Linked DNA regions of Homo sapiens: all the other regions are linked to region 3. Evidence: promoter capture Hi-C in 16 types of primary human blood cells and fetal thymus (Javierre and others, 2016). All regions are on one chromosome and are shown on one strand. The core of a region is centred on a gene start or on the middle of the fragment in contact, and the rest is flanking DNA. Distances in the headings are between cores, read along the strand shown. Region 1 overlaps IRAG2 (inositol 1,4,5-triphosphate receptor associated 2). Region 2 overlaps LOC124902897. Region 3 holds the start of ETNK1 (ethanolamine kinase 1).

Evidence for each region. Contacts are between HindIII fragments. The CHiCAGO score rates a contact against its expected background, and 5 or more counts as called.
Region 1: a contact is called between a fragment that was not itself captured here and the fragment with the promoter of ETNK1 in region 3, in 1 of 17 cell types (M2 macrophages). The highest score is 5.9, in M2 macrophages.
Region 2: a fragment that was not itself captured here is called in contact with the fragment with the promoter of ETNK1 in region 3 in 3 of 17 cell types (M2 macrophages, M0 macrophages and M1 macrophages); the score reaches 7.5 in M2 macrophages.

What each region holds. Positions count from the first base shown.
Region 1 is chr12:25,052,958-25,057,067 of GRCh38, forward strand. All of the region lies in intron 1 of IRAG2 (inositol 1,4,5-triphosphate receptor associated 2), which reads left to right. Among named protein-coding and RNA genes, the nearest start is that of IRAG2, 2.3 kb to the left of the region's middle. The HindIII fragment of the contact is 1,991 bases long and covers 861-2,851 here.
Region 2 is chr12:24,718,707-24,723,051 of GRCh38, forward strand. The region is part of intron 1 of LOC124902897; the gene reads left to right. Among named protein-coding and RNA genes, the nearest start is that of BCAT1-AS1, 99 kb to the right of the region's middle. RefSeq lists an enhancer at 998-1,057. The HindIII fragment of the contact is 4,909 bases long and covers 1-4,345 here.
Region 3 is chr12:22,622,235-22,626,725 of GRCh38, forward strand. It overlaps ETNK1 (ethanolamine kinase 1), which reads left to right and starts at 2,937. Exons shown (of 8, transcript NM_018638.5): 1 at 2,937-3,352. The coding sequence starts at 3,197. It overlaps ETNK1-DT (ETNK1 divergent transcript), which reads right to left and starts at 2,812. Exons shown (of 4, transcript NR_135030.1): 1 at 2,439-2,812. RefSeq lists enhancers at 2,582-2,651, 3,182-3,351, 3,371-4,060. The HindIII fragment of the contact is 2,136 bases long and covers 2,702-4,491 here.

The DNA.
Region 1 (4,110 bases), core at 606-3,105, 2.4 Mb after region 3:
TGAGTAGCAAATATTCATTTATGACCCAGTTTTTGTCCACCCTCAGGCGGGGCATAGGACTACAGACATTTTTCTAGATTACAGCTAGGATATTATTCCTGAGTTTATGACAATGAAATGGTTTGAGAAGGCAATATTGTGGGGCTTTCAGAGAGGTTTGCTGAGTGGCTAGGTGCATGCATGGGTTTAACCATTAACTTCCCTTTTTGCCTTTTTATTATAAGCTGGTTTTGTCTGTGGCTGTTTTTTTCTTTTAAAATTAATTAAAACTTCTCAAAATTTCTAAAAGTAAACAAGGAGAAAAATCTAGTATGCATGGTATATTTGAACTTGCAAGTTGTTATATATTATACTCTGATTTTATTAGCTAGTTTTTTTCCTCTCATATGGTAGAAAAGGCCTTGCTCGTCTATTTTCTTTGGAAATTTTAGGGGGTTGGGCAAAATAATTATGAATTCAGTGTATATCAAAATATCAAATGTGTGAAAATTCTTTTAAAGTTTTAATGCATTCTCTACATACATCTACATACATATTTTGCATTTTAAAAATTGGAATATTTGTCATTTTTCTGTATTACCCAAAAGTATATAAACAGTTACCAGAGATTTATGTGAGAAGACAGTTGTCACATTACAGATGTCAGATTAGCTATAAAATTGTTTCATTCTAGAAACCTAATATGGTAAAAATAAACCTTACTTATTTAGCCATTTATCAGACAATTGCTTTTGTTCAGCCAGTTTCTTGTTCTAGCAGTATAAATATTCTTTTTATAGAAAGTTACTTGGTTTGAGAAATAAACATTGTTTATTTGTTAATTGTTATATAATTATAAATAATTATATATTTAATATATAAGCTTAAGGTAGGCTAGAGATGAAAAATTTCAGACTTGTGTTTGTTTTGGATTTATTGTACCCTTTCTACTATTATCTGAGAAAGCTATTTAGGAGTTTAAGAAATAGTCTAGTTTTAAAATAGCAATGGTTTGCCGGACACAGTGGCTCACCCCTGTAATCCCAGCATTTTGGGAGGCCGAGGTGGGCAGATTGCTTGAGCCCAGGAGTTTGAGACCAGCCTGGACAACATGGTGAAACCCTGTCTCTACAAAAATTACAAACAAATAAATAAATAAAACATTAAAATAGCAGTGGTTATTCAACATATTATTGTCATAATTTTTAAACCTTTATTGAATTTGCCAGTTTTCAATATTCTGATTCACTCTGTTAAGCTAGTAAGGCAGTCTTTAAATTACACAGTCTGTGTGTTATTTTACTACTGCTCAGAGGGCATTGGAGAAGGTTCCCTTGTGATTAGAACTGTTCATGTTGAGACATGAATCATAAGGCATTCCAAAGTTGGTTTAAGGTGTGTCTGCTTTAGACACTGTGCCCAGGACTATTCTTTTGCTCCAGTTTTGCCTTTTGATTAAATCAATATTATACCTGAGTTTTATAAACTACTAAGAATTTGTTCCCCTTCCTCACTGTGATTTTCTTGCAGTATTTTCTTAGAAGAGTCAACTTTAATAACTTACCCCAAAGTGCACGTTCTTGATATTATGAACTTGCTATTGTTGTCTTCCCAGTTTATCTTCACGGCCCAATAGATTCAAATACACTTAAAAGCAGAATATGAAAGCTGCCCTGGGTTGATACGTGTATTTTTTTCTGCCTGGATAACGTAGAGTGGACACTTCCTTTCTGTCTTGAGTTATGCATAACCTGTCCAGATTTATGAAATCCCTTACTTGTTACTTGTATCTTTTGCTGCCCAAAAAACCCATACAAATCAGGATTTTGCTTATATGACCATGTACTTACGATCTTTCTAACAATGCCCTTTAAATTCAATCTTTGAGAGAAGAGGGAAATTTAGATAGCACGTATTTTCAAAATGTTCTATATAGCAGATGTTCCAGATAGACTGCAAACAAATGTCAATGACTGCAGTTATCACACAAACACGTCCACGCACATCCCGCCATGACCACTGCCACCCCATGCTGTTTGATTTCTGAGTCAGACATCTGATTCTGAGTCAGAAAACAAAACATATTTATATCTATTTAGCTTTTCTGAAACTCTCTGGCTAGTTTAATAAATTCACAAAGTATTTCAGACAATTGTTTTCTGATCCATCTAAGTTGCATCAGCACATTGTGTGGGGATGCAGCTGGTTTGTCCAAATGTTCAGATCAATGTGCATAATGTTCACACTACAACTGGAAATTTATATGTGATGTTTGATCAGAAATCCTGAACTTTATCTTGAATAAATGATATTGTTCAAGTTTTCAATTGCCTTCAGGACTGGGCTGATTTATGAGGCAATTCATGTGCATGATATTCTTCAAGAAATGTGCCATGAAAACTGTTCAATTGCTTGAATGGTTACTTATATATTTTATTTCTTCTGCATCTAAACTTTGTTTATATCCAAGTATCTTGTTAATAGACACATGACTGGATTATAATTAGTGTTTGCTTTAAAAAGGAAATTTTTTTTATTATACTTATGTTCTAGGGTACATGTGTACAACGTGCAGGTTTGTTATATATGTATACATGTACCATGTTGGTGTGCTGCACCCATTAACTCGTCATTTACATTAGGTATTTCTCCTAATGCTACACCTCTCCTATCCCCACCCCATGACAGGCCCCAGTGTGTGATGTTCCCCGTCCTGTGTCCAAGTGTTCTCATTGTTCAATTCCCACCTGTGAGTGAGAATATGCAGAGTTTGGTTTTCTGTCCTTGCGATAGTTTGCTCAGAATGATGGTTTCCAGCTTCATCCATGTCGCTACAAAGGACATGAACTCATCTAAAAAGGAAATTTTTAAAAGCTTATAGGATGTGTATATAACATATTAGGGTGAATCTTATGTACAGAAATCATGGACTAATTGATACAATCCAAAACTATCACCCCCTTACTATTCACCATCTCTTGTTCCCATCTGACGTGAAATCTTCATGGAGTCAGTCTTCTCATAGACAATGAGAGAATTACCTTTAAGAATCACAAATTTTTCCTTGAAAAGAGATCCTGGGAAACTCTGATATAGCATAATTTCTTATTTGAACGTAGTATCTGCACATGAACTTCCTAGTTTAGAGGAGACTTTCACCTAGATAATATCACTGCAAACACTCTTTTAGCTTGCTATTCTTAGCATGGAGGGCGGGAGGTATGGCAGAGGTAAAACCCTTAGGGCTTGGAGCATGGATTCAAGATGAAAGCCGTGTCCTAAGCAGTCAGTAAACAGGAGGGAAATGAGCCAAAGAAGGCGGGTGAAGGGATCCAGGTGATTGAGATACTTAAAGATAGAAGGTTTTGGGGTGACGGCCAAGGAGAAAACCAAAGCCAAATACAGCTTGCTCAACAACTCTGATAGGATAGGGACCCAAGTTTTCCCAAATGAAAAATGCAGATATGGAGAAGTAATCTGGGAAGTATAGTATAATGATTAAGAACATGGGATTTGAAATTAACAAACCTGTGTTCTCACTCAAAGTCCACAGAAGAGTGGCTGGGTAAAGTTGAGCAAATCACATTGCCTCTCTGAGCTTCAGTATCCTCTTTGGTTAAATGCAGTTGTTGTGAATTACATAAATAACATAATAAATGCAAAATAGTAGCTAATGCTTGGCCACAGTTGATATTTGTGTTCTGCTAGAATACGTTTCTATAACATGAATCATCTCATTTGTGATTTGTAAATGGGGAAATGCTGTGGTTATATAGTATAGAAATTATGTTGTTTCATTCACGATTTTCTTGGCACTTGGATCTGGATTGGTAGGAATAGAACTCTCACCTTCCTCAGGAAAGGAAAAAGTCCTTAGCTTGGCTGCTGAACAGGCAACAGGAACCCTTTCAGCTTTATTTTGAGAAAATTAAAATAAGTGTCTGCACCTGGGCCTCCCTCCCCAGAGTCACTCTGGGTTCTACAGGGCTCTGGACTTTATAGGGCTCTACCCCAGCCTTGTAGAGCCCTGGTCTGTGTCCAATCATACTCCCTCCTGTGTTCACCTTGTTAGCCTCGCTGCCTCTATCTACATTTGCCTTTCACCCCACCACCACTGTTCTAGTGAAAGCA
Region 2 (4,345 bases), core at 1,183-3,682, 2.1 Mb after region 3:
TCACTGACTAACAAGCAAATCAGAACTTGTCATGTGCAAATCTTGTGAAGATTGCAAGGCCAGTATATAATTAGCCTCAAAAGAGTGTGACCAAATTGGGTAAAAAATAAAAACACTATGAAAAGGGAATAAGAAAACCAAAAGGAGGTCAGGGTGTGGTCAAACCATGGGAACCCTTTAACTTTACGTTTTCCTGACATGGTGATGTTCAAAGTCTGTAGAAAAAGTGAAATTATGAAACAGATATTCCTATTCTGCTATTCAAAGAGCTGCTATTGTTCATAGATCAAAGAATCTGGTGATGAAGAGAAGTTTATACAGCTCTGAGTGTGAAAAATATTCAAACTCGGAACAACAAAAAGAAAGTTGGCAGGAGGAGAAAACAGGGATGAGGAGGAGGAAGGGCTAGAACAGTGACTTGCTCCATCCCAAGTGCTCAATAAATATTTGCGGAAGAAATGAGGAAGGCTATGGAGAGCTCTTTTTCCTTCAGGCTGTATCATCAAATACACCCTTCCTCAGTGACCTCTCTTCCCCCGCCCTAGCCCAATTTTCTTTCTACTCTAAAAATCAGAAGCAAGATTCCAATCCTATATTTTACCCTCTTGCTAATCATGTATGTAATGCCCTGAAGTCATTTTCGAATTTCCTGTAAGGCACACACCACCCTTTCTCACCACAGAGAGTCTTGCTTGTGAGGTCAGATGGTTCTCACAGATGACATGAAGGAAAAAATTCCCAACTAATTGTCATTGCTTAAACCCTCTTCCCTCACAGTCTCCAGAGATGGGACTCTGGGTTTCACAGGGACCATTACATCAGAAGGGTCTGTCAAGGCTTTAGTTAATGAACCCAGTTGAGATCATCCCCTGCAGGGTGGGGTGCATGCAGACCCTGGGTGTGAAGGCTTCAAGGGGGAAAACCCAGGAAGTGGTCAGATGACTCAGTGGTGGTGCTTTGTTGAGTCAGACCTAGGCACTGGCACTATGATGTTCCAATGTGCAATGGGAGACCCCAGCTCTCAAAAGAATTTCTTCATGCTCATTGTCCACAAGGTCCTCATTAGATCCCAGGACCTCTTCCTTCTTGTTTTTGTCTTTTCATCATTTAACTGTGGAGTTTGTGCCTTTAGAGTCACTGTTACATCCCAGCCAAGGTGTCTATAGAAGTGAGCTGCTGTATGGAGGTGAAGTAATCCTCATACTACATATAAATGTGTAATTAGTTCAACAAATATTTATTGAGCACCTAGACTGTGTCAGGAGTTCCGTTGCTTATTAATTTGTATTGAGGTAATTTGTAACTCATATTCTCCTGAAAATATTTTCATTTATCATATGCCCTCTTTAATTAAGTTGTTGTCTGCTCTCTGAGAAACACCATTAAACAAGTATCTTCATCTTGTCACTTGAGCCAAGTTAGTTTTAGTGTAACTCATACAGAGGAGAAGAGAGGCAACAGAGAAGAGCAAGTCCTTACTCATACAGCATATTGAGTATCTCCCAGAACTGTAGAGGCAATAAGGAAAAAACTGATACGGGAGGGGTGGTGAGAATCAAATATCTGTGATATATCCATTCATCCAGATTATAAATTGCTACAATAAAGAGAGCAAATTTCCCCCAAGTCTATATTGCTTCTCAGTATTAATATAGACCTCTTTGTGGTCTTTGTGTCCAGTAAATCTCTCTTGACATTAAAGTGCTTTTTAAAAATTTCTGCTTTAGTAAAAGTATTGTCTCAATGACAAAATACTAGCCCAGAAACCAGGTCTAAATTCAATGAATTCCAGTAACTGTCCCTAAAAACAAATATTCTGGGAGTGATTTCTCAAACTGTGTGGACAGAATAATGGCCCCCAGAGATGTCTACATCCACATCTCCAGAACCTGTGAAAATCTTACTTTATGTAGCTAAAGAGACTCTGCAGATGGAATTAAGCTAAATGTTTTGAGATGGGGAGAATACTCTGGATTATCGAGGTGGGCCCAGTGTCATCACAAGGGTCCTTATTATAAGAGGGAGGCAAGATCTCTTGTCCCATCTCCCTATCAAACATCAGAAAGGAGATGGGATAAAAGAATCTGAGGTTGGAACCATGTGCTTTGAAGATAGAGGAGGGGGCCATGAGCCAAGACAAGCAGGAAGCCTCTAAAAGCTGGAAAAGTCAAGGAAATAGATTTTCCCTTGGAGCCTCCACAAGGAATAAACCCTGCTGATGGCTTTGTTTTAGCTTCATAAAACTCATTTCAGACTTCTGACCTTCAGAATTGTAGATAATAAATGTATAATGTTTTAAGTCACTAAATTGTGATAATTTGCTATGGCAGCCATAGGACATGTGTATTTGTATGTGGCATAGAAATAACTCAAGCTGAATAATTGATGTCTTCTGATTTCATTCCTTCACCAAATATTTATATATTAACTACCCTGTAGTTGCTAACATTCTGGAAACTGGGGACATGAGAGTAAGCAAAATAAACATGGTTTCTGTTCAGTTTAGGAGGAGGCAGGACTTTGTTCATTATACATATGAGGAAATTTATGAATTTATCTAATGTGAAAATTAAACCAGCTGTTTATATAGGAAAACAAAACAACTGGTTAACTTTTTTTTTTTTTTTGCTTCCAATAAGTTAGGTTGGTGTCCCACTGTGACTCACTGTATTTTTATGTCATAATTGACTAGTATTACAACCATAACTGTGGTCATTTGCTAGTCAAGTTCCAACTCTGCCCCTGCTTTCTTTAAAGCCTAGTGTCACAGAGATAAATTGAGAATATTCAAGGACTTGTGATTTTTTAAATTGAATTCTCATGACCCTATGTCCAAAAAAGATGGGTATGCAAAAAATGCCTCAACAGCTAATGATGAACCAAGTACAAATACATCTTAAGCAGTCAAGGTTTTATTACAAAGAAGTTTGAGAAAAACGCTCCTTAAATATGGTCCAAAAGGGAAGAATACTCATTCTCTTTTCATATGAAGAAAAAAATATCATAATGGTTAGAAAGACTTCCTTTGCCCAATAAAGCTCATGAAGTTTAAGCTCCAGGGTCCTTCCTTCACATAGTTTCTTTCTATCCAAAAATCTGAGAGTGGGTAAAGAAATATGTGCCATGAGGGTTTTTTTTAAATAAGATATTAAGTATATATATTTTGGTTTAGAAAGCTATCTTGGCAGGGCATGGTAGCTCACACCTGTAATCCCAACATTTTGGGAGACCAAGGCAGGAGGATTGCTGGAGTCTGGGAGTTTGAGACCAGCCTGAGCAATATGGCAAAATCCCGCCTCTACCAAAAAAATAAATAAATAAATACAAAAATACAAAAATACAAAAACTAGCTGGGCGTGATGGTGAATGCCTGTAGTCCCAGCTACTTGGGAGGCTGAAATTGTAGAATTGCTTGAGCATGGAGTTGCAGTGAGCAGAGATTGTGCCACTGCACTCCAGCCCAGGCAATGGAGTCACATCTTGTCAAAAAAAAAAAAAAAAAAGAAAAGAAAGAAAAGAAAGAAAAAAAGAAAGTTATCCCTCTTTACTCCAACTTTCTGTTCCACTTTTCCCCATTCCAATGATGTTGGTGTGGCCATGGTTGTTTCTTGAATCTTCCAAGGGGAGGTTGGGTGGAGGTGCACATTTTTTTGGTTCAGTGGGACATGTTGATGTGGTTTGAAGCAATATTCATGTGTAGTTGGCACATTGCTAGCCATTTTAGTGTAGTGTTGAGTTTTATTTCCTGCCCACTGTGCCGACTCTCCTGGTGTTGTGCCATGAGGTACAGGTCAGAGGTTCTATTGTGATAGGAACAGGTGCCATGACACCCAGCACTGAAAGCGTGTGGGTAAGAGAGAGCAGCCCAGGTTTGAAATTGATGGAATCACAAGTTAGTCTGAGAATAAATCTTCTGTAACATGTAAATGTATAAGTAAAGAATTGAGTTTTTCTTAATTCTTAGTCATAATAGAAGTTCTATTCTGTCAGGAATATCCTTGATGTGGTTTGGCTGTGTCCCCATCCAAATCCCATCTTGAATTCCCATGTGTTGTAGGAGGAACCCAGTGGGAGGTAATTGAATCATGGGGGCAGGTCTTTTCTGTGCCGTTCTTATGATAGTGAATACGTTTCACAAGATCTGATGGCTTTACAAGGTGGAGTTTCCCTGCACAAGTTCTCTCTCTCTTTGCCTGCTGCCTTCCATGTAATACGTGACTTGCCCCTCCTTGTCTTCCACCATGATTGTGAGGCCTCCCCAGCCATGTGGAACTGTAAGTCCATTAAACCTCTTTTTCTTCCCAGTCTCAGGTATGCCTTTATCAGCAGCATGAAAACAGACTAA
Region 3 (4,491 bases), core at 1,687-4,186:
TGGTTCATTGCAACCTCCGCCTCCCAGGTTCAAGTGATTCTCCGGCCTCAGCCTCCCGAGTAGCTGGGATTACAGGTGCCTGCCACCACGCCCAGCTGATTTTTATATTTTTAGTAGAAACAGGGTTTCACCATGTTGGCCAGGCTGGTCTCAAACTACTGACCCCAAGTGATTCACTCGCCTTGGCTTCAATACTACACTGTCTTGATTATTGGAACATATACTATTTTTTTTTCTTTTTTTAGGCAAGGTCTAATTCTGTTGCCCAAGCTTGAGTGCAGTAACTTGATCATGGCTCACTGCAGCCTCAATCTCTTGGGCTCAGGCAATCCTCCTGTCTCAGCCTCGGAGTAGCTGTGACTACAGGTGTGCACCACCACACCTGGCTAATTTTTTTTTTGGAGAGATGAGGTCTCACTGTGTTGCCCAGGCTGGCCTTAAACTCCTGGGCTCAAGCGAACCTCCTGCCTCAGCTTCCCAAAGTGCTGGGATTACAGGCATGAGCCACTGCACCCAGCTATACTGTCTTCAAGTCTGTCTGTTTTCTCACTTTGTTTTTCTTTAATATTGTATTGGCTATTCTGGCTCTTGTGGCTTTGCATGTAAACATTAGAACTGGTTTGCTGATATCCACAACATAACTTGAGGTGATTAGAATTGAATCAGTAGATCAGGTTGATAAGAACTGATATTTCTTGCACATTTTTAAAGTTTTGCTTTTAACATTTAGGTTTCTAATCTTCCCCAAATTAATTTTTATGCATAATAAGAGGGAGGGATCAAAATTTTTTTCTCATACAAAAAGCAATTGTATCACTACGGTTCATTGATCAGTCTGGACTTTCTCACTAATTTTTAATGCTACTTTTGTTATATACAAAGTTCTCATATGTGTGTAGGTTTTGTTCTGGGACTTTATTATGTTCTAGTAGTTTATTTGCCCATACCTAAACCAATATATAATACATCCTGGTAGGGTTGGTCCTCCCAATATATTCCCTGATCTTACCTGTCCCTATCCTCCTCTCCCCAATTACAGCGCTTTTCTTGGACCTTAAGTTTTGATATGAATTTCAATGTCATTTTAACAAGTTCAGTAAAAAAACCCTTTTGAGATTTTAACTGGAATTGCATTATATGTACTGATTAGTTCAGGGAAAATTGAGGCCTTTACATTAATCTTTTCTCATTTATGAATATGGTTCATTTCTCCATTAATTTTATCCATGGATCCTGTACATTTTCGGTTACTTTTGTTCTCAGGTACCTAATAGTTTTTTTTTCTTTTCTTCTACTTGTTAATGGACTCTTATTTACCATTACAAACTAGTGCAGTTTGCAACATAATTTTCAATTAAATTGTTTTACAGTTACATAGTTTTAAAATTCTTAAAATGTCAACTGCTTAATAAAAAATACAATTTATACAAAAATACAAGAGATACTATCTGAAATGTGAAAGTAGTAGTATATTTATGATTTCTCCCCAAAGTGGAAGGAACACACACTCTAATGTTTCTTGTAGAAAATTATGCCTAAATCTGGCAGGGCGCGGTGGCTCACGCCTGTAATCCCAGCACTTTGCGAGGCCGAGGTGGGTGGATCACCTGAGGTCAGGAGTTCGAGACCAGCCTGGCCAACATGGTGAAACCCATCTCTACTAAAGATACAAAAATTTGCTGGGCGTGGTGGCACGCGCCGGTAATCCCAGCTACTCGAGAGGCTGAAGCAGGAGAATCCCTTAAACCCGGGAGGCGGAGGTTGCAGTGGGCCAAGATCGCGCCATTGCACTCCAGCCTGGGCGACAGAGTGAGGCTCCGTCTCAAAAACAAAACAAAAAAAAACAGAAACAAAAAACAAACAAAAAAACCACTAAATTTGAAAAATGTTAAATCAACTTCTTTGCTGTATTATAAAGCTCCATTTCCACCCCTCTTTTTAGTTTAGGAAGTTTACCGTTATCGGTGAAGTAATTATTTTGTTAATTACAAAGGTAAGTAGGTTCTTTCTGAACAATCAGGATGTAAACTTAATGCTAGTGAAGTAATTAAACATTTTGAATGTTAATTAAACTCAGTCCAGTTAAGGGTTTTATTTACTACTAACAAACGTATTCACCGTGTGCTAAGTGCTGCAGGGAATCCCAGCCCGTTTTCCTCCATCTAAAAGGAAAATTAGGAGGTCCCAATACTTTACTTGTAGATTTTCCAGTTTCTACCATTCCCTGTAAGGCACTGAGACGCAAGATTTCAAGGCCCACTCGGGGTACCCTGGCATGGACATCGAGTCGTTCTAGCGCTGAGCTTCAAAACTATTCCTTTCCTTCCCTTTCTTCTTCATACCAGACTCTAATCTGTTCTCCCTAGCTTCGAATTATTCACTGTATGGTCGAACATCTTACTCCACAAATAACCTCTGAAGTGTTGCAGTTGTCTTACCCAAATACCTGAACTCAGCTTGTCCCGAGTACTGCGATCCCGCGTACTGCTAATGGGAATATAGTTAACCCAACTAGTATGAGGTCCCCAGTACACAGCAGCTCCAAGATCAAGGCGACCGAGTAACACTGCTTGCCTAGACTCAGGCCAAGTTCGGAGAGTGATCCTGGGGTTATTTTAGAACGTGTCCCTTGCTTCCCAGAAAAATTCAGTCGTTAACTCAAGTCCAGATGCCCAATGACCATTCGGATAAGGTGAGCTAAAGCTTCAATGCCTTGAGGGGCTTGGCAGGGCTCGGGCTCATCCCGGAGAAGCAGCCCCGCTTTCCAGACTAGCAGTTCCCAGGGATGGGTGTGTGCTAATCGCAGGCCAACAAGCCCAGCGCGGTACAGAGGTCCCATTGTGACCGGAGGCGAGAAACCCCGCCTCGGCACCCTGACGCAGCGCAGGACCCGCCCCGCGCGTGACGCCAGCGTCAGGCCAGCCCCGGCATGCTCTGCGGCCGCCCGCGGTCCAGCTCCGACAACAGGAATTTTCTCCGAGAGCGGGCCGGGCTCAGTTCAGCTGCTGTCCAGACCCGGATCGGCAACAGTGCCGCCTCCAGACGTTCTCCTGCCGCTCGCCCGCCCGTCCCAGCGCCCCCAGCCCTCCCGCGAGGGCGCCCCGGGACGGAAGGATCCACCAGTCTGTCGGCGCCCGCCGTTCTCGTGGTCGCCGTCGCCGTCGTCGTGGTGGTAGTCTCCGCCGTCGCCTGGGCCATGGCCAATTACATCCACGTCCCTCCCGGCTCCCCGGAGGTGCCCAAGCTGAACGTCACCGTTCAGGATCAGGAGGAGCATCGCTGCCGGGAGGGGGCCCTGAGCCTCCTGCAACACCTGCGGCCTCACTGGGACCCCCAGGAGGTGACCCTGCAGGTAACGCCCACACCTCAGCTCTGGGTCTCTTATGCCCCTCACGCGGCTCTGGGGGTCCTCACCACAATCGCCTCTGTCCCACGATGACCGAGGAGGACCTAGGGCAACATCTCCTTAAGTCTATTGGGAAGTGACCCTGTATTTCCCCTCACACCTAGGAGGGTCACTCCCCCTTCCCGTCGCAGTTGCTCTTTGAGATTGACCTGAGGCACATTTTCTCTTTCTAGAAGCCGCTGCGTAAGTGACGGACCCATCCACGGGGGGAGATTCCTGCTGATAGTTGCCCCTCCTCCCACTCCCCAGTCCACGGTCACTGCAAAATGAACCTTTCCACTCCCCTTGCACGGGGTCCTCGTCTACCTCCTCCCCTCCCACCAGTAATGCAGTCATTAATCCTCTCTGATCTTTCCTTCCTCTCCCCTCCCCCTGCGATGTGCTTTCATTGATGCCTCACACTGCGTTTTGTCTTCCCAAACCCTAGCGTACTCAATTCCCAAAGTAATGACCACGACCATGCATCGCTAGGTCGGTTCTTAGGCAGCACCACACACATTGTTTTGTTTGAGTCGATATTTCTGAATTATTAAAGTCGTCTTACTGAAATTAATACCTGATACTAGAAGGAGCAGTGGCTTGTGACTGTTTCCTTTTCATGAGACACCGTGTTGATAGAGAAAAAATTGGGAGGAAAAAAATCCCTGAGACTCTAGGAGTTTTCTAATAAGTTGGAAGTTATGATTTCCACTACGTGATTTTTTTTGAATACTAATCTGTTTTTAGCTTTAGTTTCAGGAACTAGATACAAAAATAGATCTCTTTTTCTCCTTTTCCCTTGCAAACAAAAAAAAACAGTAATTTTCAAGATTGGGATATTTGGGATTTGTTCTAAATCTGAGCAATAATGTAAGAACATTCATTTGAATTAGCCAAATCATCTGCCTCGTTTTGATGACTAATTTATTCACCAATATTTGTTGATTTATTTGCTAAATTCTTCGCTAAACTAGCCAGCCACCCACACAAAGATGAATAAAACATGAGCAGTGCCTAGGGCCCAGAACAGTTCCTGACACTTGGGTTTTCATGTGTTAGTTTCAGTTCTTATTACCTAGAAGAGTTTTTAAGCAGATTATTTTAAA